Regions from separate parts of the Homo sapiens genome. Here all the other regions are linked to region 1. Evidence: promoter capture Hi-C in 16 types of primary human blood cells and fetal thymus (Javierre and others, 2016). All regions are on one chromosome and are shown on one strand. Each heading gives the region's core, a stretch centred on a gene start or on the middle of the fragment in contact. The rest is flanking DNA. Distances are from core to core; before and after follow the strand shown. Region 1 holds the start of RAN (RAN, member RAS oncogene family). Region 2 overlaps LINC02370 (long intergenic non-protein coding RNA 2370). Region 3 has its middle 15 kb from the start of LINC01257. Region 4 overlaps ADGRD1 (adhesion G protein-coupled receptor D1).

The links. The method cuts DNA at HindIII sites, captures the fragments that hold promoters and counts their contacts. A CHiCAGO score of 5 or more calls a contact.
Region 2: a contact is called between a fragment that was not itself captured here and the fragment with the promoter of RAN in region 1, in 1 of 17 cell types (megakaryocytes). The highest score is 5.9, in megakaryocytes.
Region 3: a contact is called between a fragment that was not itself captured here and the fragment with the promoter of RAN in region 1, in 1 of 17 cell types (monocytes). The highest score is 6.4, in monocytes.
Region 4: a fragment that was not itself captured here is called in contact with the fragment with the promoter of RAN in region 1 in 3 of 17 cell types (total B cells, naive B cells and naive CD4 T cells); the score reaches 8.0 in total B cells.

The regions. Positions count from the first base shown.
Region 1 is chr12:130,869,192-130,874,420 of GRCh38, reverse strand. RAN (RAN, member RAS oncogene family) reads right to left here and starts at 2,355. Exons shown (of 7, transcript NM_006325.5): 1 at 2,295-2,355; 2 at 1,792-1,837; 3 at 1,501-1,585; 4 at 1,293-1,418. The coding sequence starts at 1,827. It also overlaps the pseudogene RNU6-1077P. RefSeq lists enhancers at 494-563, 1,792-2,553, 3,051-3,130, 2,554-3,315 and silencers at 1,841-2,050, 2,101-2,240, 2,311-2,770. The HindIII fragment of the contact is 6,850 bases long and covers 1-3,422 here.
Region 2 is chr12:131,350,102-131,355,330 of GRCh38, reverse strand. The region is part of intron 2 of LINC02370 (long intergenic non-protein coding RNA 2370); the gene reads right to left. Among named protein-coding and RNA genes, the nearest start is that of LINC02370, 5.2 kb to the right of the region's middle. The HindIII fragment of the contact is 228 bases long and covers 1,977-2,204 here.
Region 3 is chr12:131,147,243-131,152,471 of GRCh38, reverse strand. No RefSeq gene overlaps it. Among named protein-coding and RNA genes, the nearest start is that of LINC01257, 15 kb to the left of the region's middle. The HindIII fragment of the contact is 4,819 bases long and covers 775-5,229 here.
Region 4 is chr12:131,129,650-131,134,878 of GRCh38, reverse strand. It overlaps ADGRD1 (adhesion G protein-coupled receptor D1), which reads right to left. Exons shown (of 25, transcript NM_198827.5): 21 at 3,063-3,154. Among named protein-coding and RNA genes, the nearest start is that of LINC01257, 33 kb to the left of the region's middle. RefSeq lists an enhancer at 2,093-2,725. The HindIII fragment of the contact is 2,298 bases long and covers 1,047-3,344 here.

The DNA of each region.
Region 1 (5,229 bases), core at 1,106-3,605:
CTCACTTTCAAGGTCTCTGTCAATTCTAAAAATGTTAATACACAATTCCTCCTAAGAGAGATGAGCTGACCCTATCAAATCTCCCTGATATACTTCACCATTAATACTCCCCTCATCCCAAAAAAGTATCTGAAGTAATTAATGCTAAATGAGATTCTGGATAACCAAGCTGCCATATTCTGAGGGTAGGGCCTGGAAACACATTCTTCAGAAGGTCTTTAAATGGCTGGCTATACTGGAAAACATTATTCCTGTCTTAAAAAATCCAGATAGGCCAAGCAATGTGGCTCACGTCTGTAATCCCAGCACTTTGAGAGGCTGAGGTGGGTGGATCACCTGAGCTCATGAGTTCCAGACCAGCATGGGCAACATGGTGAATCCCCATCTCTACAAAAAAATACAAAAATTAGTCAGGCATAGTGGCACGTGCCTATAGTCCAAGCTACTCAGGATGCTGAGGTAAGAGGATGGCTTGAGCTTAGGAGGCGGAAGCTGCACTCCAGGTTGGGCAACAGAGCGAAACCCTGTCTCAAAAAAAAATTAAATAAATAAATAACCCAGATAAAGCCTATATATTCACCTGCAGGAATAACTATGGTACAGTTAGCAAGGCAAGAAACCACAACTTTTTGGTTAAAGGATTCTTTTGGGGGAAATTCTTGTGTTTATTTGTACATGCTCAAGGAAAGCAAAAGGCATGGAATGATTCCAGATAATGTGTTATCGGCAACGTGAGGTTCCAAGAGAGATGAGTATTTTCTTGATTCCTCTTTTTGGTACAATGAACATTTTCCTTGCAATTTTTAAATCAAACTATTTGAGAAAAATACTCTGCACAACTTAGTACAAACAATTTAACAAGAAATCAGCTAGTCTTGTATAACACTTGTTAAGATCTCCTATCTCCTCTGGTCTAGTATCTGGTGTTTATTGTTTTCTAATACAGTAAAAACATTCATTGATCACCACACCAAAATACATACATGAACCTAAGTTTCCAAATACTGAAACTGCTGTTAACAGCCTATTATTGTTTTAAATATGACTTATAAGTCCCAGTGTAAGTCATAGTTTTTTCTAAAGCATGCCTAGCATGACACAGCATGCAAATGACACAACTTTAATAAAATTTTCTCTGCCACCAAAATGGTGGTCAACTCCCCGAAGTCCACTTGTCTTTTTTTAACCCAAAAATGACACTATTTGTTGGAACAGACCTGATTTTCTATAACCTTGAAGACTGAAGTACACAAAACCTCTCAAAAACCGTTCAGCAAGTTACAAATGCCTACCTTGGATATAATAGCCATCTCTCAGTCCACCGAATTTCTCCTGGCCGGCTGTGTCCCATACATTGAACTTAATAGGTCCTCTGTTGGTGTGGAACACTAGGGGATGAACCTCAACACCCAAGGTGGCTGAAACGGAAACGATGCGATTGAGTGGATGAACTTACCCATTTCTCACATATTTCCACAAGCAAGGTTTTCCAGCACATACCTACATACTTCTTCTCAAATTCACCAGTCAAATGACGTTTCACGAAGGTCGTTTTTCCAGTACCACCATCACCAACCAATACAAGCTGTTGAAAAACACATTTTGGAAGTAAACCCTAAACACTTCACCTCTCAAGATCCCAGAGTCACGGAACTTTAACCACCACAGGCTCACTTAAAACAAAGAATGTGGATGCGGGGCCCCATTACAGCCATCGTGGCCCCAGGAGGAGGGACCCGCGAGTCGCACGCGGTCGGGCTCGGCCGCCTCCCGCCCCGCAGGGTTACCTACTTTGAACTGGACCTGGGGCTCTCCCTGCGCAGCCATCGCGGCGTTCCTGCGGAGGCAGAGGACGGAGGCGAGCGCTCGCGCGGCCCCGCAGCCCATGGCGGCCCCGCTCCCGCGCCCCCAGCGCCCCACGTGCCCGCCCCACAAAGGCCTCCCGCCCGCGGCGCCATGGCGGCCAGGCCTGGGAGCGGGAAGGCGGCGGGCGGGGCCGGCATCCGGGGCGGCGGGGCCCGGGGAACGGCGGCCGGAGGTGTAGGGATGGGAACGGGACTGGGACCGGGACGGGGATGAGAGCGGAGGATGAAACGGGGGTTCGCGGGGGCTAGCGCCGACCCCACGCCCGTCTCCTGCCCCGGCCCGGCCGGGCCCGCACCACCCACCTACTCAGCCGCCCGCTGCCCCTGGGTCCGCCACCCGCCCCGGCCCTGGCCCCGGCTCCGACCCCTATCCCGCCGCCGCCACCCCTGTCCCCGCCCGGCCGTGCCGGGCCCGCCGGGTCGCGATACCTTCCAGAAGCGTCTCCGCGCCCGTCCGACTGAGGCTGGAAAGATGGCGGAAGCGCAATTCAAACGCCGGAGACGCAGCCGACGCCGGCGCGAGAGCAGGGGCGGGGCCGGCGCGGGGCGGGGTTGCAAGGGGCGGGGCAACGGCGCGGCGCCCGCCCACGTGGCCCGCGCGTGCGCGCACGCACGCAACGCGGTTCGGTCGGCCGCTCGGGCGGTCGCTGCGCTTAGGGTGGGGCGGGAGGCGCGGTGGACCGCGTGGGAGGGCGAGCCGGGAGCGCGTACGCAAGCCGGCCGGTGGGGACCGCGTGCGCCGACGCCCCGGGCGGGCTCCCGGGCGCGCATGCGCTGAAAGCGAGGCGGCGCGCCCCTGAGCGGGAGACGTTGGGCGCGGCCCGACGGTCGCGGCTCTCCTGCCTCCCGGGTGGGAGGCGGTACTCGCTCGGGCAGACGTGGTCAGGCACGCGGCTTCCAGGCGCTGGCCAGCCTGTCCTTGTCTGTGCCCCGTGGGGTGGGGGTTCTTGAGGTCCTGGGGCTTAGGGTGGCTCGCGTGCGCGCAGGACGGGTGGGTGACAGAACGAATGAATGAATGAATGGGGTCTAGGCCCGTCCTCCAGAGGCAGCCCGCTGTTCTGTCTCTCCAGATCGTAGCCTTCACGCCCCCAGGACCAGGGCCAGTTGGAGAGCGAGGAACCAGAGAGGGATGCACCCACCCAGAAAAACGGCTACTTATTTTTTTTAAGAGACGGAGTCTCGCTACGTTGCCCAGGCTGGTCTCGAACTCTCAGGCTCGGGCGATCCTCCCGCCTCAGCCTCCCGAGTAGCTGGGACTACAGGCGCGCACCACATCAGGGGTAATTTTTTAAAAATTTTTTTGAGAGACAGAATCTAACTATGTCTCCCAGGCTGGCCTCAGGGGATCCACCCGCCTCGGCCTCCCAAAGCGTCCGGCTTCTCAAAGCGTTTCATAGGTTGGCAGCTTTGGCCGCTGCATGCTACAGACAAAATGATGAAATACTGTTTGCAGTCTGGACGCGTCTACCAGCCCTAGTTACCAACGGGGACGGAATGAGTAAGTGCTCAGCTTCCCAGCCCCCTGTTGGCCTGAAGCTGTAAGAGCCCAAACAAGCTTGAGCTAGAGGGACCCGACTTCCTGGGCGCCCCTGCCGACATGCAGACAGATAAAGGCCCAAATCAGCGCAGTCAAGCGCCTCAGAAGAGTCCACCATGGGGAGAGAGCCGCAGTGACCGAAGAGTCCTCCCTGCAGTCCTGAGCACACTTGCAGGCGAGTCCGCTAGGAACCCCAGTGACGCAAATTAGGCACAAAGCAGGCGACAACCGGCCTGCTGGGAACGCAAGTCCGAGCTCCCCCAGAACCCTCAGGGGAACCCCAAGCACCTCTCAGACGCTGCTGGCGGGAGAGCAGAATCTAACAGTAAAACGGGAATGCCCATTGCTTGTGACCCCGGATTTCCATTTCTAGGGAGAGGCCCCAGAGTTAAACTCATGCCTCACGCATGTGCACAACATTTAATACTGTATAACATTTAAAAGGAATGACGGTCATCTGTTTCAACAGGGTTAGATAGATGTCAAAAGGATAGTGTTGAGAAAAGAAGAAAGAGGTGATAACAGCTTTATAAAGTCTAGGCCACCTGTAATCCCAGCACTTTGGGAGTCCGAGGTAGGAGGATCCCTTAAACCCAGGAGTTACAGGCTGCAATGGGCAATGATCTCACCATTGCACTCCAGCCTGGGAGACAGAGCAAGACCCTGTTTTCAAAAATTAATACATAAAACCTAACACTATATGTAACTTTATCTAGAGGGATTATATATATAGTATAATGTCATTTATGTATATTTTTTACAAATACACATAAAACAAAAGCATATTGGCTATTGGATATATGTATTTTGTTGTTTTTTTTAATTGACTGCAAGGATCTATATACCATATCCTGATGGTTATTGCTTCAAGAAAGGGTAGAAAGGAGTGTGATGGAACTGAGAAGAGGAGTCAAAGAAGACTTTAACTTTACCTGCAATGTTCTATTTCCTTTTTTTTTTTTTTTTGAGACAGCCTCACTCTCGCTCAGGCTGGAGTGCAGTGGTGCGATCTCGGCTCATTGCAACTTCCGCCTCCCAGGTTCAAGTGATTCTCCTGCCTCAGCCTCCTGAGTAGCTGGGATTACAGGCATGCGCCACAACACCCAGCTATTTTTTTTATTTTTATCTTATTTTTATTTTTAGTAGAAACAGGGTTTCATTATATTGGAATAGGTAATCGAGTGGTCACTTTGGCAGCACGTATACCAAAATTGGAATGATACGGAGAAGATTAGCATGGCCCCTGCGCAAGGATGACAATTTTTTTTCTTCTTCTTTTTTTTTTTTTTTTTTTTTTGAGACAGATTCTCGCTCTTGTCACCCAGGAACTGCGGAGAGAGGTCATAGAAGAGTTTAACCTTACCTGCAATGTTCCATTTCTTTTTTAAAAAATGGTAATCAGGGCCGGGCACGGTGGCTCACGCCTGTAATCCCAGCACTTTGGGAGGCCAAGGCGGGCAGATCACGAGGTCAGGAGATCGAGACCATCCTGGCTAAACCGGTGAAACCCCGTCTCTACTAAAAATACAAAAAATTAGCTGGGCGTGGTGGCGGGTGCCTGTAGTCCCAGCTACTCGGGAGGCTGAGGCAGGAGAATGGCGTGAACCCGGGAGGTGGAGCTTACAGTGAGCAGAGATCGCACCACTGCACTCCAGCGTGGGCGACAGAGCAAAACTCCATCTAATCAGGCTGGGTGCAGTGACTCACGCCTGTAATCCGAGCACTTTGGGAGGCCAAGGCAGATGGATCACTTGAGCTCAGGAGTTTAGGACCAGCCTGGGCAACATGGTGAAACCCATGTCTCTAAAAAAAAAACAAGAAAGAAAA
Region 2 (5,229 bases), core at 841-3,340, 480 kb before region 1:
AATATGTAGGCCTTCCCAAGGCTTCCAAACGTGCATGAAAGCCAATACCAGTGCTTCTTCATCAGCCTACCTGCATCTCCCTGAAACCTGTTTCCTCCTCTTCAGACAAGATCAGAAGACCAATTCTTTTTTATTTTTATTTCTCTCTCTCTCTCTCTCTCTCTCTCTCTCTCTCTCTCTCTCTCTCTCTCGGTCTCTCCCCAGAGCCAATCCATTTGCAAATCTTGTCATCTCCAGCTCCAAGATAGATCTGGAAAAAATGTCCTCCCTCCATCTCCACTGCCACCGCTGTAGTCTGAGCAACACTTATTTCCTGCTTGGACCAGTGCAGTAGCCTGAAAACTCATTTCTTTCCATTCCCACCTCTCTCTGCAGTGCAGCCTGGGAGGCCCCTCGGGGGGCAGAGCATGTTGCACACTGTCTTGCCTCCCCATATTACCAGTGGCCAGGGCACTTAGCAAAAGCTAGACCCTTTCCCCTGCCTGTAAGGCACACGGGGCCTGACCCCTGCTGACCTGCTGCAGCTCTGGCCTCCTCTCCTTGCCCTCAGCCTCCTTTCTGCTCTTCACAGGGCCACACTGGTTTCTGCTGCATGACCTTTCCCTGGTGATGCCGCTGCCTGGTATGCACCTGCCCAGGTTTGCATGCTGTTGGCTCCTTGTTGGTGCCAATATCATACCCTCTAAGAGATCTTTCCTGGCTGCCCCAGCTCATAATGGCCTCTCCCCAGCCACATTGTTACATGGTCCATTCTGTTTCATCGACGGCCCTTTTGACAACTGAGGATTATCGTATTCATTTTCTCACATACTTGTATGTCTCTTCACTGGACCGGAACATAAGTTCCAGGAGAGCAGAGCCATGGCTCTCCTGGGGCTGTGTCCCCAGCGCCTGGGACAGAGCCTGGTACAGGGGGGTGCTTAATAACCAAATGTTGAATGAAGTCACCAGATCTCTCCCTTCAGTGGCTAGTGTGAGTTCAGACAAAGGAAGAAGACTTACATGAGGCTTACAGGGTTGAGGTCAGAAATAATTGAGATTCTGAACTTGCACGAATTCCAGCACTTCAGGAGCGTGAGAGCAGATCTGCACATATGCAGGGATGAACAGGGTGACCCCAAGGACTAAGCTCTCAGACTCCTCAGCAGAGGCAGGATGGGGACAGGGGTCGTGGTATGGGGGACTGCACATCGTGGTTGGAGGGCTGTCAGCTGATCACTCGTCCCACCTGGAACCCCCAGAACTTCTCTCTGCATTTCCCTTCCAGCTGCTCCCTCCCTGGGTGCACCCTTATTGCTTATGCAGCAGCATTTACAAGTGAGTCACCCCGAGTGGTTGCAGCAGGTGGCAGGGGCAGGTGAGTCAGCCCGAGTGGTTGCTGCAGGTGGCAGGGGCAAGTCAGTGACCCTGAGTTGCTGCTGCAAGGTGACGATGCTGCTGCAGGTGTAGATGATGGTCTTCAGTGATTGCTACAGAGGAGAGGGCACTTCACTATCTAGCTTTCAGAACATGAGCCTCAAGTTTCTTTTGCCTTGTTTCCTCTTCAGGGAAAACAGAGACAGAGATGGAGAAGGAGACTCCTGAGTTCATCAAGAAACACCTTGATCCAGCCTTGCTTGGAACGTTGGGGTAGATGAACAACAGGTATGTGGCCTTTTCTGTGTGGGCCACTGGGAACTGGGTTTCTGCCATTTGCAGAAAGAGGTTCCTGACTGGCATGCAGGCCCCAACCCAGGCTGAGCTTGAAGTGCAATGGCACACGTGGCCTCCCTTCCTGTCTGCCCACCTTCTTGGGGCCTATTGCTGTGGAGCTCCAGGGAGGCCCCTTCCCTGCTGGATGGAGCAGGGAGAAAGAATATCTTCATGGCTAATACTCCTTCATCATGTTGCTTTGAGGACACTCTAGCTGGCACTGAGAACCTGAGCTGTGGAGTCCCAATTCTATTCATTAGTAGGTGTGTGACCCAGGGCAAGCTTAACTTCTCTAAATCTAAATCTCTTCATCTCTAAAGTGGGAAAATAATGGTCTCCAGGCCTGCAGGTTGTTGTGAGGCTTAGGCAACGCTGTATATGCAAAGCATTTAGCACAATGTTCTGCACATATTAGATACTCAACACATGGTGTCTGTGTCAGTAAGCAAGTTTCTCTCTAAATAACTGCACACATTCATACAATACATGATGACTCAAATCCAATAGAAGCTTATGTCTTGCCTTTATGGCAGTCCAAGTGGTTATGAGACAGGTAACTCTCTTCCATGGTGTATTTCTGAGACTCAAACCCCTTCCATGATGTGAATCACCATCTCATTGATGTCTGTGTCCTTCCAGGAGAATGGACAAGACATCATAAAGGCGGTAATCATGCTTCCTTCGGCCAGAAACGGTCCCCATCCCATCTATTGATGAGAACGCAGCCATGTGACCACATCTCCTTGCCAGGCAGGCTGGGCAATGTGGCTTCACCACGTACCAAGGAAGGAGGAGCAGCAACTGGTGAGCATACAGCGCAGCACCCACTTGTGGTGCCAGACCATCAGGTAAGGCCAGACACAGCCGGGCAGCCTGGCAGCAAGGACAACGAAACCTGGAGCTGGTTTATCGGTGACGAGTGGAATCTGTTTCCTGAAGAGCCTGAGAAGGCAAAGAGCCTCCTCTGCGGGAAGACGGGAGTGAGGGGCTGACTGCCGGCATTCCAGGACAAGAAATTCTGCCCCTCCGGGGTGCATCCTCCTTCTTCCATTCTCATGGAAGTGGTCAGCGACGTCAGGAAGCTCACTCCGTGTTTTCCAAGGAAAGAACACTGGTCCTGGAATCGGCCTGCCTCTGGTTCCAGCAGGCCCGGCCAGGCCATCCCGGCACCTCCGCTGGCTTCTCCTCCAACCCATCAGGCTTGGTCAGTCCTTCTCTTCCAGCGACCTCAGAGTGGCAGAGCCATTGGTGCAGCTATAAATGACTGATGGCCCGGTTGTGTTGGAGGAATTGTAAACACCATTCATAATTCATCGGGCGGGCATGTGCTTTGCATTTAGAATGGCTGGTACCCGCAGCCTGCTGCGGAGCTGCAGGGAGACCTGGTGGACGACGTCCCCTGCACCCTCCAGGGCCAGTGGCTCAGCCAGGATTCAGGGAGGCTCTAGTGGCTGGATTAACTCAGGGCTTCAAGGCTGGCTTTTCACAGAGCTCCATGTTTGAGGTATTAGCTTATCACCTGTTACTTAATTTTTTCCTTTCCATCAACTACCTTATTTTACATAATTCAATTTTAAAAAGGAAAATTTGCATCATTTTCCAAAATGAAAATCAGTATCTACTGCCCTTAATATCCAGTCCCAGCGAGGAGGAGGAAGTGCATCTCTGATTGGCTTGATTTGGTTGTGTGCCCATCCCTTATCCAATCACTGTGATGAGAGTGTGTGTAACTCTGATTGGCTTGATCTGGTCATGTGGTTACATGTTATCCAATCACTGTGATGAGGATGTTTGGGACTATGATTGGCTTGATTTGGTCATGTGCCCACCTCTTATCCAATCACCATGATGAGGCTGGGCTGTGTATGACTCTGATTGGCCAGTAATAGGTCACATGCTCACTGGTGATGTGACGGGCTGGGTCAAAGTGCAGGTCACTTTCTTCAGGGAAATCCTGATGTTGTGACAGGAGGAAGAGGAAGAGGAGGGACATGTCAAATAATATCGCCCACGGTTCTGTTCTCTAAATGTTCCTCTTTCTCCCACACTGCTGAGCAGAGCTGTTGAGGTCTGCAAGGAACTGCTGGTGTAAAGTGTGGGATTGAGCCCCTGTGCTCCCCAGGTGGGCCTTGGTGAGCCCCTGAGTGTGAACACATGCCTGGGCTGAGCCCCTGAGAGTGAGGCCCTGTGTGTGAACACCTGCTTGGGGTGAGCCCCTGAGAGTGAGCCCCTGTGAACACATGCCTGGGCTGAGTCCCTGAGAGTGAGCCCCTGTGTGTGAACACATTCCCGGGGTGATCCCCTGAGAGTGAGCCCCTGAATGTGAACACCTTCCTGGGGTGAGCCTCTGAGAGTGAGCCCCTGTGAACACTTTCCTGGGTGAGCCCCTGAGAGTGAACCTCTGTGTGTGAACACCTGCCCGGGGTGAGCCCCTGAGAGTGAGCTCCTGTGTATGACACCTTCCTGGGGTGAGCCCCTGAGAGTGAGCCCCTGAGTGTGAACACCTGCCTGGGATGGGCACCTGTCCAGCATGGGCATCTGAATGTGGGCATGTGAACGTATGCACCTGAGTATGAACAGCATTACCATACCATGCTCTCTGAGGAATTCTCACTGTGAAGTTCCTGGTAATAAAAGTCAATCAAAACTCCATGTTCTATCGACCCAGCTCCCTCCACATTCCACATCTTCTTTCTGGTCTTAAAACAGGAATTAAAAGAAATTAAAGAATGTGTAAGCAGAAACTCAGTTGTATGTAAGAAAACCCAGGCCGGGCGCGGTGGCTCACGCTTGTAATCCCAGCACTTTGGGAGGCCGAGGCGGGTGGATCACGAGGTCAGGAAATCGAGACCACGGTGAAACCCCGTCTCTACTAAAAAAAATAAAAAAAAAAAAAAATTAGCCGGGCGTGGTGGCGGGCGCCTGTAGTCCCAGCTACTCGGAGAGGCTGAGGCAGGAGAATGGAGTGAACCCGGGAGGCGGAGCTTGCAGTGAGCCGAGACTGCGCCACTGCACTCCAGCCTGGGTGACAGAGCGAGACTCCGTCTCAAAAAAAAAAAAAAAAAAAAAAAAAAAAAAAAAAAAAAGAAAACCCAATTCCCCTTGAGAAAGAGAAAGAGCTGGAGTCCTTTAAAAATTAACTGCCTGTTTTTCTGTGGCTAGTGAGCCTTATCTCTCCTCCCTTCCCAGGCATTGTGAAGACCCTGTTTCCCTAGCTGTGCAGCTGCAAGGTCACCAGACAGATAAACTCAAGTCGCAAAACATGTTTTTCCTTGAAAAGTAAGAAATGATGTAATACATGTCTCAGTTGAATAACTGTCTTTGTTTCTCGCTTCTGTAATATGCTTCCCCCTGCACAGATCTCCCCCCCACAACACCCCACCCCATGAAATGCTTAAAAGGTAACTTAACTCTTTGTTCAGGGCTCAGTCATTGGAATGTTAGTCCTACTGGGCCGGTGTACCTAAATAATAAATATCCTCCTCAACCCCATCGGTCTCTGATTCCTTATCAATCCTGCTACAGTCTTAGGCAGAG
Region 3 (5,229 bases), core at 1,935-4,434, 280 kb before region 1:
TTCAGTTCCACCAATCAGCAGGACTGAGTTCTGGTCCCGCCAGGAAGCATTAAGTACTCAGACAACTGGAAGGTCAGCAAGGCAGAGATGAGCTTCATTGAGTAACAGAACAGCTCTCAGGAGACCTGAAAGGGTAGCTTCTTTCTGCAGGCAGGTCATCCCAAGTGTCCAGCTCTCAGTAAACAGGAGAGCCACAGTGGGTAGCTCCTTTCTGCTGGCAGGTCATCCCAATGACTGTACAGCTCTCAGCGGAGAGGAGACCCACAATGGGTAGATCCTCTCTGAAGCTGGTAGTCCCAACATCTGTGTGAGTCTGACGGAGTCAGGGGTTTTTATGGGCTCAGAAGGGAAGAAGTGTGTGCTGCCATGGGCAGGCCCAGAAAAAGCACCATGAGTTCTCACTCCAGGCCACGGACTCCACCCGGCACTGGCAGCCTGGACCTCATGCTTCAGGCCGTCCATCATTTTTCCAGAGTTGAGTCCAAGTTCCAGGGAGCTTCTGTAGCACCAAAGTATCAAGAAGTGGAATCGGATCCCCACTTCTGTAGCTGAGAGCCTGCACACTGCTCATTCCTCTCTCAGTATTCTCCAAGTCCCTAGAAAGACAATAAAGAGGGAAGAGAATGGGGGAAGAGAACATTTCCAATGTAGTTAAAGCGCACCTTGGTGACATGCCAGGAGAGAGCTGGCAGCCAGAGAATGGGAACTGTAGCTTGTTCCTGCCATGGTGCCAGCAGGCAGCCTATCTTCCAGGGTGAAGTATTCACCAAAGCTTCACCCCACCTGGGGGAGGGTGGTCCCTCCTCCCAGCTCCCTCAGGTCTTTTTATCTACACTAAGCGGGGAAATGCTGTCACTGGAGTAACTTGTGAGGGTTACCACCCTAGACACAAACCCACTAAAAGGCTGAGATTTATTGTAAGATGATAGAACATTTCTCCTACCCCACACATTACCCCCATGACAACGAGAATACAGAACAACAGGAACTGACTACAGCTGGAAGAGATGCAAGATGCAGACTCTATGAGGAGTGTACAGGAAAAGTCCGAAGTCAAGAATAAAGACAAAAGCAAGGACACTAGAGGAATTTGAAGCCTCTGGCACCTACAGCTACAGCAAACATTAAACAGCCCAACTCCTAGCCAGGTAACGTAAGCCTTGATGTTAAAGTCCTCGTTACCTCAGTTCCTGATACCCAGTACAAAATGTTCAGCTTCTAACAACAATAACAACAAAAATTGCAAGACTACAGATGACAAGAAAAAAACCAACCAAGCATTAGAACTAGGTTCCCATATGACACAATGTTGAAATTATCAGACAGGGAATTTAAGATAACTAGGATTAATATGTTAAGAGCTATAATGGAAAAAGTACACAACATGCAAGAACAGATGGCTAATGTAAGCAGAGCTGTAAAGACTAAGAAAAAATCAAAATGAAACACTAGAAATAAAAAACCCTTTAACAGAAATGAAGAATGCCTTTGATAGGCTCGTCAGTAGACCAAATGCCGCTGAGGAAACAATCAGTGAGCTTGAAGATAGGGTCATAGAAATTTCCCAGACATAAATGCAAAGAGAAAAAAGATTGGAACAAATAACACCCAAGCCTGTGAGGCAACTGTTAAAAAAAAAGTAACGTGTAATTGGAGCATCAGAAAAAAATTAGAGGAAAGGGTTGGAAGAAACATCTGAAATAATAGTAACTGAGAACTTTCCAAAATTAATAACAGATACTAAGCCACAGATCCAGAAAGCTCAGAGAATACAAAGCAGGATAAATACAAAGAAAATCTTGATGTTTCATATTAAAATTGCAGAAAGCAAAGACAAAAAGAAAATCTTGGTCAGAGGAAAAAACGCCTTACTTATAGATGAGCAAGAATAAGAATTATAGCAGATTTCTTGTCACAAACCATAGAGGCAAATAAAGACAGTGGAGTGAAATATTCAAGTTATTGAAAGAAAAAAATCACCAATGTAAAATTAACATAATAGCCAGCAAAATGATTCTATAAAGGTGAATGAGGTTGGATGTGGTGACTCATGCCTGTAATCCCAGCACTTTGGGAGGCTGAGGCAGGTGGATAACTTGAGCTCAGCAGTTAGAGACCAGCCTGGGCAACATAGTGAGACCCCATCTCATAAAAAAATAAATAAAATAAAATAAAATAAAATAGTGAAGGAGAATAAACACTATTTCAGACAAAACTTGAGGGAATTAGCCAGCAGAACTTCCCTGTAAAAAATGTATAAAGAATTTCTCCAGAGAGAAGGAAAATGATACAATCAGATGTAAACTTAGATCTACATAAAGAATGGGAGAGTATCAGAGAAAAATAAATGGAGGTGAAAGAAAATGTTTACTTTTTTTTTTTGTTCTTGATTGATCTAAAAATAGCTGTTTAAACTTATAGCATCAATGTATTAGATAATTATATACCACATAGACAAGTGAACTGGATGATAACAGGGCATGGGGCCAGAGGGAATTGAGATACAGTGTTGTAAGATACCTGTATATCTGTGGTATACTCTTATTTGAAGATGGATTTAGATTAGTTAAAATCTATATTACAATCTCTAGGGCAATCACTAAAAATAAAATAAAAACTAGTTAAAAATAGACATTGGGCATGGTATCTCATGCCTGTAATCCCAGCACTTTGGGATGCTGAGGTAGGAGAATCACTTGAGTCCAGGAGTTTGAGACCAGCCTGGTCAACAGAGTGAGACCTCATCCCTACAAAAAAAAAAGGTCAAAACTTGCCAGGTGCAGTGGTGCACACCTGTAGTCCCAGCTACTTGGGATGCTGAGGCGGGAGGATTGCTTGATCCCAGGAGGTTGAGACTGCAGTGAGCTGTGATCATGCCATTGCACTCCATCCTAGGTGACAGAGTGAGACCCTGTCTCTAAAAATTAATTAATTAAAAGTATACACATTGGAATTAAAAAGTAAGTCTAAATTCTACCAAACATTTAAATAAGAAATTATTCTAATTCTAAAAGTCAAAATAGATGGAGACATATTCCATATTCATGGATGGGAAGACTCAATATTGTTAAGAAATGAATTGTTTAAGATTGACCTGTGGATTCATTGAAATCCCAATCAACATCTCAGCAAGGTATTTTGTAGATATTGACAAACTGATTCTAAAATTTATGTGGAAAGGCAAAAGGCCTAGAATAGCCAATACAATTCTGAGGAAGAACACAGTATGGGGACTCATACTTCCTGATTTGAACAATTACCATAAAGCCAAATAATTAAGACAGTGTGGTATTGGAAGGAAAACAAATAGACACATATGTCAGTGGAATAGAATGGAGAATGCAGAACTATAACGATACAAGTATAGTCCATTGATCTTTGATGAAGGAGCAAAGGCAAGTCAATAGTGAAAGGAGAGATCTTCGAACAAATGAGGCTAGTACAACTGGATGTCCATTAAGACATCCACAGGCAAAAAGAATGTGTCTTGACTTCAGCTTCACACCTTATGCAAAAGTTATTTTTTAAAGGATTCTATATTTAAATTTAAAGCTGAAACGATAGCCCTTTTAGAAGAAGATCTTTTGGATCTAGGTTTTGCTGAAGAGTTCCTAGACATGATACCAAAAGTACAATTGACAAAAGACAAAATTGATAAATTGAACTTTATTAAAATAAAACTTCTCTTTGGCAATTTCTCAAAAGAAGTCAAAGCAGAATTACCATTTGACCCAGCAATCCCTTATTGGGTATATACTCAAAGGAATATAAATTGTTCTACCATAAAGACATGTGCACATGTATGTTGATCACAGGACTATTCACAATAGCAAAGACATGGAATCAACCTAAATGCTCATCAGTGGTAGACTGGATAAAGAAAATGTGATAGATATACACCACAGAATCTTACGTAGCATAAAAAAGAGTGAGATCATGTCCTCTGCAACAACATGGATGGAGCTGGAGGCCATCATCCCAAGTGAACTAACAAAGGAACAGAAAACCAAATACCATATGTTCTCACTTATACGTGGGAGTTAAACACTGAGCACACATGGACACAAGGAAGAGAACAGACAGTGGGGGGCCTACTTGAGAGTGGAGGGAGGGAGGCAGGTGAGGAGTGAAAAATTACCTTACTGGGTACTATGCTTAATAATCTGTATATCAAACCCCTGTGACATGCAGTTTACCTGTAACAAACCTGCATTTGCATCCCTGAACCTAAAATAAAAGTTAAAAACATAAATAAATAAAACTTTTGCTCTGTGAAAGACTCTGTTAAGAGAATGAGAAGGCAAGCCACGGACGAGAGGAAAATAATTGCAAAACACATATCTAATAGAGGAAGTGCTCCTCTCTCACACACACACACACACACACAGTGGCATGTCAGACGGACACAAGATCCAACTGAGAAAGCTCTCAATGGCCAAAGCTGGAATAATTTGAGCAACAAAATCATTAAAGTAGTATTGGATAATAATCCATCAAGTAAGTATCCATGAGTCTGTACTGATATCAATGGCTGAATTAATTAATAAATGGGGAAGAATAGACATGTCCCATGCAGAAGAATTCAAAATAATTTATGCAGAGCCTCCTTCCTTGAGGAGGTAGAACATAACTCCACAATCCTTTAGTGTGGGCTGTGCACAGTGGCTTCCTTCTAAACAGGATGGAATGGGGAGACAGGGAGGGAGTAATTTCCCATTGGAGAAACCAGACAAACACTACCTCAGCTCAGTGATTAAGGTCATCATCGACATATAAGTCATATGTCAACATACAAGTCAACATATAAGTCATGTTGATAGTATGTACATACCCTTGACATGATGCGATGAGAATGACACTTTACCTCTATAGTCTTCCTCCCCAAAACCCATAACCCAAGTCAGGCATGAGAAAAACATCAGATCCATCCCAACTTAAGTACATTCTACAACATACCTGATCATTAATCCTTAAAACTGTCAAGGTCATCAAAACAAGGAGAGACTCAGAAACTGTCACAGCCAGGAGGACTGTAAGGAGACATGGCTACTAAGTGTAATGTGGCATCTGAAATAGTATCCTGCAAGGGAGAAAGGATACAAGGGAACACCTGGAGAAATTGGAATAAAGTACTACTTTAGGTGATACAGTATCAATACTGGTTCATTATCTGTAACAAATGTGCCATATTAACATAAGATGTTAATAATAGAGAAAACTAGGTGTGGG
Region 4 (5,229 bases), core at 946-3,445, 260 kb before region 1:
CTGTAACCCCAAAGTGCATCCCAGCACCAGGACTCAGAGGCTCTCAGGAAATAAACATTGAATGAATGAATGAATGAATGAATGATGAACAAGTGGACGGCCATGCAGCAGTGCTGCACACAGATCTGGCACCTCCCCGGAGGAGGTGAGATGCGGCCATAATGAGCTTCCTTGTCAAGAGACCAAGAGCCTGGCACTGACAGCTCCGGGCAACCGGTGCCTGTAAAACCCAGAAGTGTTCCAGCACTTCAGCTCTCAGAGAAGCCGCAGCCAGCTTGTTCTCATAATGCTAATGCAATAAAAATAAAACACCTGTTTCTGGGAAACAACAATATCATGCATTATTCAGCTACAATCTTTAGGTCCCGGGAAACCGTATCTGAAAGGATCAATCACTGAGAAATAAGTACCAAAATGTGCTACTTTTAAAGTGATGGTTTGACTTTTCTTAAAATGAACAATAGAAGAAGATCTTGGGGGAAGACGCTGAGCTGAAGCTCTGCGGACTCTCAACACGGCCAGAGCTGTCAGTGTCCCTGGTCAAAAGCAGAAGAAGAGGGGTCCCTGGATCTGAAGGAGGCTCTAGGCAGGGGGTGTGCTTTCCTCTCTGATCTATGACCCCCTTCTGCTCCCCCAAGGTTGGCCCTGGCCTAGGGGGCTCAGGCCCTGAGTCTCCAGGCCCCACAGCCCACCTGCTCGTGGGTGCACTTCTGTGGGGGTCTCACCCTCACGCCCCCGCCCCCAGGGTCCCACTTGTAAAACCTGACCATTCTCTGCTTCTTTTTCAGGAGTCTGGAATCACAATCAATAAACAGAGACTTTTTTAAAAAGTGAAAGCCAGGCTTCTCCCCCTGCTCAGACCTCACTTATTCTATTCTCCACTTTTCTTGGGGTAGGGGGGTGGCAGGGAAGTGAAAGCCAACCCTGTGGAGGGCCCCTGAGGAAGAATCTTATCTTGTTATTCACTGAGTACTGGGCTGCTTGGCACTAAGAAAATCACTAGAATAAAACCAGAGGATGAAGAATAGCAAGGTGCTGGGGAAGCTTCCTCACGATGCAGTGACTGCCTCTTCCTGCCTGGCGCCTGCTCCCTGGCTGTGCTTCCTCAGCCCTGGGAGTCAAGTGTTACACAATCCACACTAAGAAGATTGTGAGGAAGCATCCCTGAGGGGCAGACCTGGCCGCCCAAAGGAGAGGAGCTGAAGGCATTGGGAAATGTGCTGGGTTGCACAATGGAGAGGGACCCAGAGCGGTCTGTCCCCAGAGATGCCTGCCTGCACCTCCCCGGAAGGGACGCATCCCTGGGCTGCCAGGTGCAGACGCAGGTGGGAAGGATGGGCAATGCCTTCAGCTGTGCCCTGCAAAGACCTGGGCATGCTCTCCCGGGGCACGCTACCTCGAGCCTTCACAAGAGCTGCAGACACAGTGCCAGCCTGTCGCTTGGAGGACATTTCCATGGAGAAGCAAAGGCAGTGGACAGAAGCTGCTTCCTGGGTGGGCACTGATGGGAGGATGGGGCGCAGTGGGGTAGAGATGGAAGGCGGTGCACAGGTGCGGGGCAGGTGCACAGGGGTGTTCTGGTGACAGTGGAAGTAGTGGCCTCATGGGGCTCAGACAGGGGATTGTGAGCTTTTGCTGGAGACAAGCTGGCAACAGACTGGCTGACCCTGAACGCTGAGGTGAGGGCCTGGGGAGCTGAGGGCTGGGGTGAGGAAGGGACAGGTCCCTCCCCAGCCAGGCCATGAGAGGTCCAGGAGACCATCCTGGTCTCAGCAATGGAAGAGGAAAGGACGTGATCTCTGACCCCACGAGCATCTCTTCTCGCACGGGGCACAACCCTTGAAGGTTTCCAGGAGCTGAACAGCCCAAGGAGGCTGCAGCCTCTTGTCAGGTTAATTTATGGTGTTTGGAATTCATTACAGACTAATTCTCTCATAGATTCGCTGCTGACATATTTGCCACTTTTGCTTTCACATCAGAACAGATACGCGGTGGCTGAAGTAACAGTACAGAATGTCAGCTGCCTGGTACCCACGCCCTGCTTTTCACAAAGCCCCTGAATTCCCTGCGAGGGACAGCCTCCCCAGCTTTCAGCCCTGTGGTTTGGGGGTGCTAACTGAACAGTCACACGGTCATATGAGTGAATCCCCCTCTACAGGGTCTGGCTCAGGGAGGGCACAGGTCCAGCCTGAGTCCCCATCGTCCTCCAGGCGCAGGCCTCCGTCTCAGCAGGTGGGACAGGGACTCCCCCGTGGGCCTGAACCCCTGCCGCAGCCATTCGGCCACCAGGGGGCAGAGTCGACCTCGGCCTGAAGCCAACACTAAGGATGCGAAGGCGAGCTGGGCCCGGTGCTGCAACTGCCAAAGAATTCCTGCAACGCCAGGGCTTCTGAGCTCCGGACTTCACAGTCAGCTGCGTCAGTGAGTCCCCCTTCTGCTTAGGCCAGTGCATGCTGGGATTTCTGTCACCTGCAATCGGCTGGGCCGTAAGAGATGCAGGTCAGGACACCCCCGATGGCAGTGAGTTGTGTGGCTGGAATCCCTCCCAGAGACCCCGCCCCTTCTCCAGGCGGGGCAGCCCAGAGCACACCAGGACACTGCTCTCCCTTGCACCTTCCCTGATGTGCCAGCTGAGGGGGAACCTGTTATCATCCCGTTCTGCACGTGAGGAAGGCGAGGTGCTGAGGGGCTAAACTCGCTGAGCCCAGCAGATGGCCAGGGCAGATGCGGGACTGGCAGGGGCTTTCTGGCTCTAGAATCTTCCCCGTTGCCGCCCCCCAGCTGCTCATCACCCTGGGGTGAAGAAATCCCTAGGAGAACTCCGTAGACTCCGTTCTTCTACACATGGGAGCTCTGGGGCTGGGTAAAGGCCCTGTCCTGGGTCACGAGAGCCAAGCGAGGGCGTGAAACCAGAGCTGCCCTGAGATGGCAGGGACACGGAGCAAGTGGAGGACTTTGGTGCCGGCCACAGGAGGCAGGAGTGGCTATCTCTCCTGTGACCTCAAAGCATCCTCTGGGGGCAGAAGGGCCGTGGCACTGCTGGCAGCCTGAGGTCAACTTACTTGAAGGCACTGGGGTCTCCATGGATCTTGTAGTTGTCGGCGCTGATCTGTGAGATGACTCTGGTCACAGCGATGAGGATGCCAATGTTGACCTGCACAAGAAACCATGGAGGAAGGTGAGGGGGGCCTGGGCTGCACCTGCAGGAGAGCTGCGTCCGCCTGGCCACTGCCCTCACCACAGGCTACCCCTGCCCAGCCAGGGCTCCTGGGACACAGGGGCATCACTGGGACAAATCTCACCCTGTTCCGTGGGCTTTTACCAACACACACAACATGCAAGCTTGCCTCTGAGAGCACCTGCACTGAGAAGACAGCAGAGACGAGTTCTAGTCCCAGGAACACATCCGGGCATGAGGGCATGAGCCTGGGCCAGACCTCATCTTAGCATTTGCTTCGTTAGTGTGACCCTGGGCAACTCACCCAGGTCCTCGGAGCCTCAGTGCCCCAGGTGATGAGAAGGATAGTGCCCACTGTGCAAACGACTGCTCAATGTGCCAGGCCCCGGCACAGGAGCTGGCTCTCATCTCCCGCCCCGGCCCAGGCCTGCGGCTGTGCGAGCCACAGAAGCTGCGGCAGAGGGGCATCATCTCCTGCCAGCACCCCTCCTTGCTGGGAAACTGCTGGAAGGCTCCTGTTGGGACCTATGGGGCTGGGCGGGGCACTGAGGGGCCCCGGCAGAGGCTTCAGCACAACCTGCCCCTCACCTGGGCAGCTCCCTCAGTAGGAGGCTGGCGAGGCAGGCACAGCATGGGGAAGAACCCCCTAGTGTCCTCTGGCTGCGGGGTTAGGGTGAGGGTTAGCCTTCTCCCTTGTGTCTGAAAAATTCTGAGGCCGTGTACAGAGTCAGCAAGGAGTCCAGTTCCAGGATAAAGTCCTCTGTGTGAACTCTCAGGCTCGAACTTTCAGGCAATGAACAGGGCTCTACCTCGCCGGCCTCACAGGGCAGCTGCTGTCCCCACGCCAGCCTGGGCGCGGCCAGAGCCTGGCAGTCTCTGAAGGGAGCTGCAGTCGGAGGGCAGCCACTGGGGCCCCGCACGGGATGGCCAGCTTCGCTCTCCCCCCGCACGGGATGGGCCGGCCTCGCTCTTCCCCCGCACGGGATGGGCCAGCATCGCTGTTCCGCACACCTGCACCCCTCGCCTAGGTGCCCGCGCCAGGCCTTTCTGAAGCAACTGCTGAGCCCGCCTCACCCTAGGGGCCTTGAAGCCACCTTCTGTGCCCAGGACTTTTCCACTGTGAGCCCTTCCCCTTCCTCCTCGCGCAGCTCCCGAGCCCATGAATCAGCAGGAGCCCTCCGCCCAGGGCTCTCTCAGCAGGAGACCGGCCCTGTCTGCACGGAGGCTTCAGACCCTCCTGGTGCTGTTCTTTGGGAGAGAGTGGTGCGTGGTGGGGCCGCCCCCTCCTGCCTAGCCCCTTAGGACACTATTGTGGCAGTGAGCACCCCAACTGTTCCCTCCTCGGCTCCTGTCTTCACTGACCACCTCAACACCTGGAAGCTCAGCTCACGCCCAGCTCAGCTGACAGTCGGATGCACCTTAGTTGCCCTTATTTTCCCATCTGTAAAGTGAGGCTAATAACAGAAGTGTCCAAAGGCCAGGGAAGGGAAAAGAAGTCAACACATTAGCCACCCAGCATGGTGTCTGCACAAAGAGCATGTCCAGAAACGCTGATGCCCCCCAGCCAACCTCACTGTGTAACGACGAGAAGAAAGCCACACTCAACTAGGAGCAGCAAGCGGGAGCAGCGTGGATGACAGGTCAGTGGTTTTCAAATGCAGTGATGATTCAACTAGGACAGTGACAAACGCGTGACTAATGTGCAGTTATTACTTCGAGTGGGGATTTCAATTGCAGATGGCTGATGGTCACTGATGTGTGAGTGCGGCCCATGCCCTCGGGGCAGGCTGGCCTTGGCCATCTGCCTGGGAAGCACTTTCGTGCCTCCAGTGGTGGCTACAGCATCACACAGAGAGGGAGGTGGAGATGGAAGGTGCCCCAAGTCAAACTGCCACAGACCCTGCCTGCTCTTACTGAGATTCAGAAGTTTTTCTTGAATAAATGCTTTTAGTGTGCATGCCTTTGTTTCTAGAATTCCGACTATTTTTTCAAAACAATTCTTCCAGTTCTTTCCTTGTTTTGGGAGTGGAGATTTCCCCAGGTCCTGACTC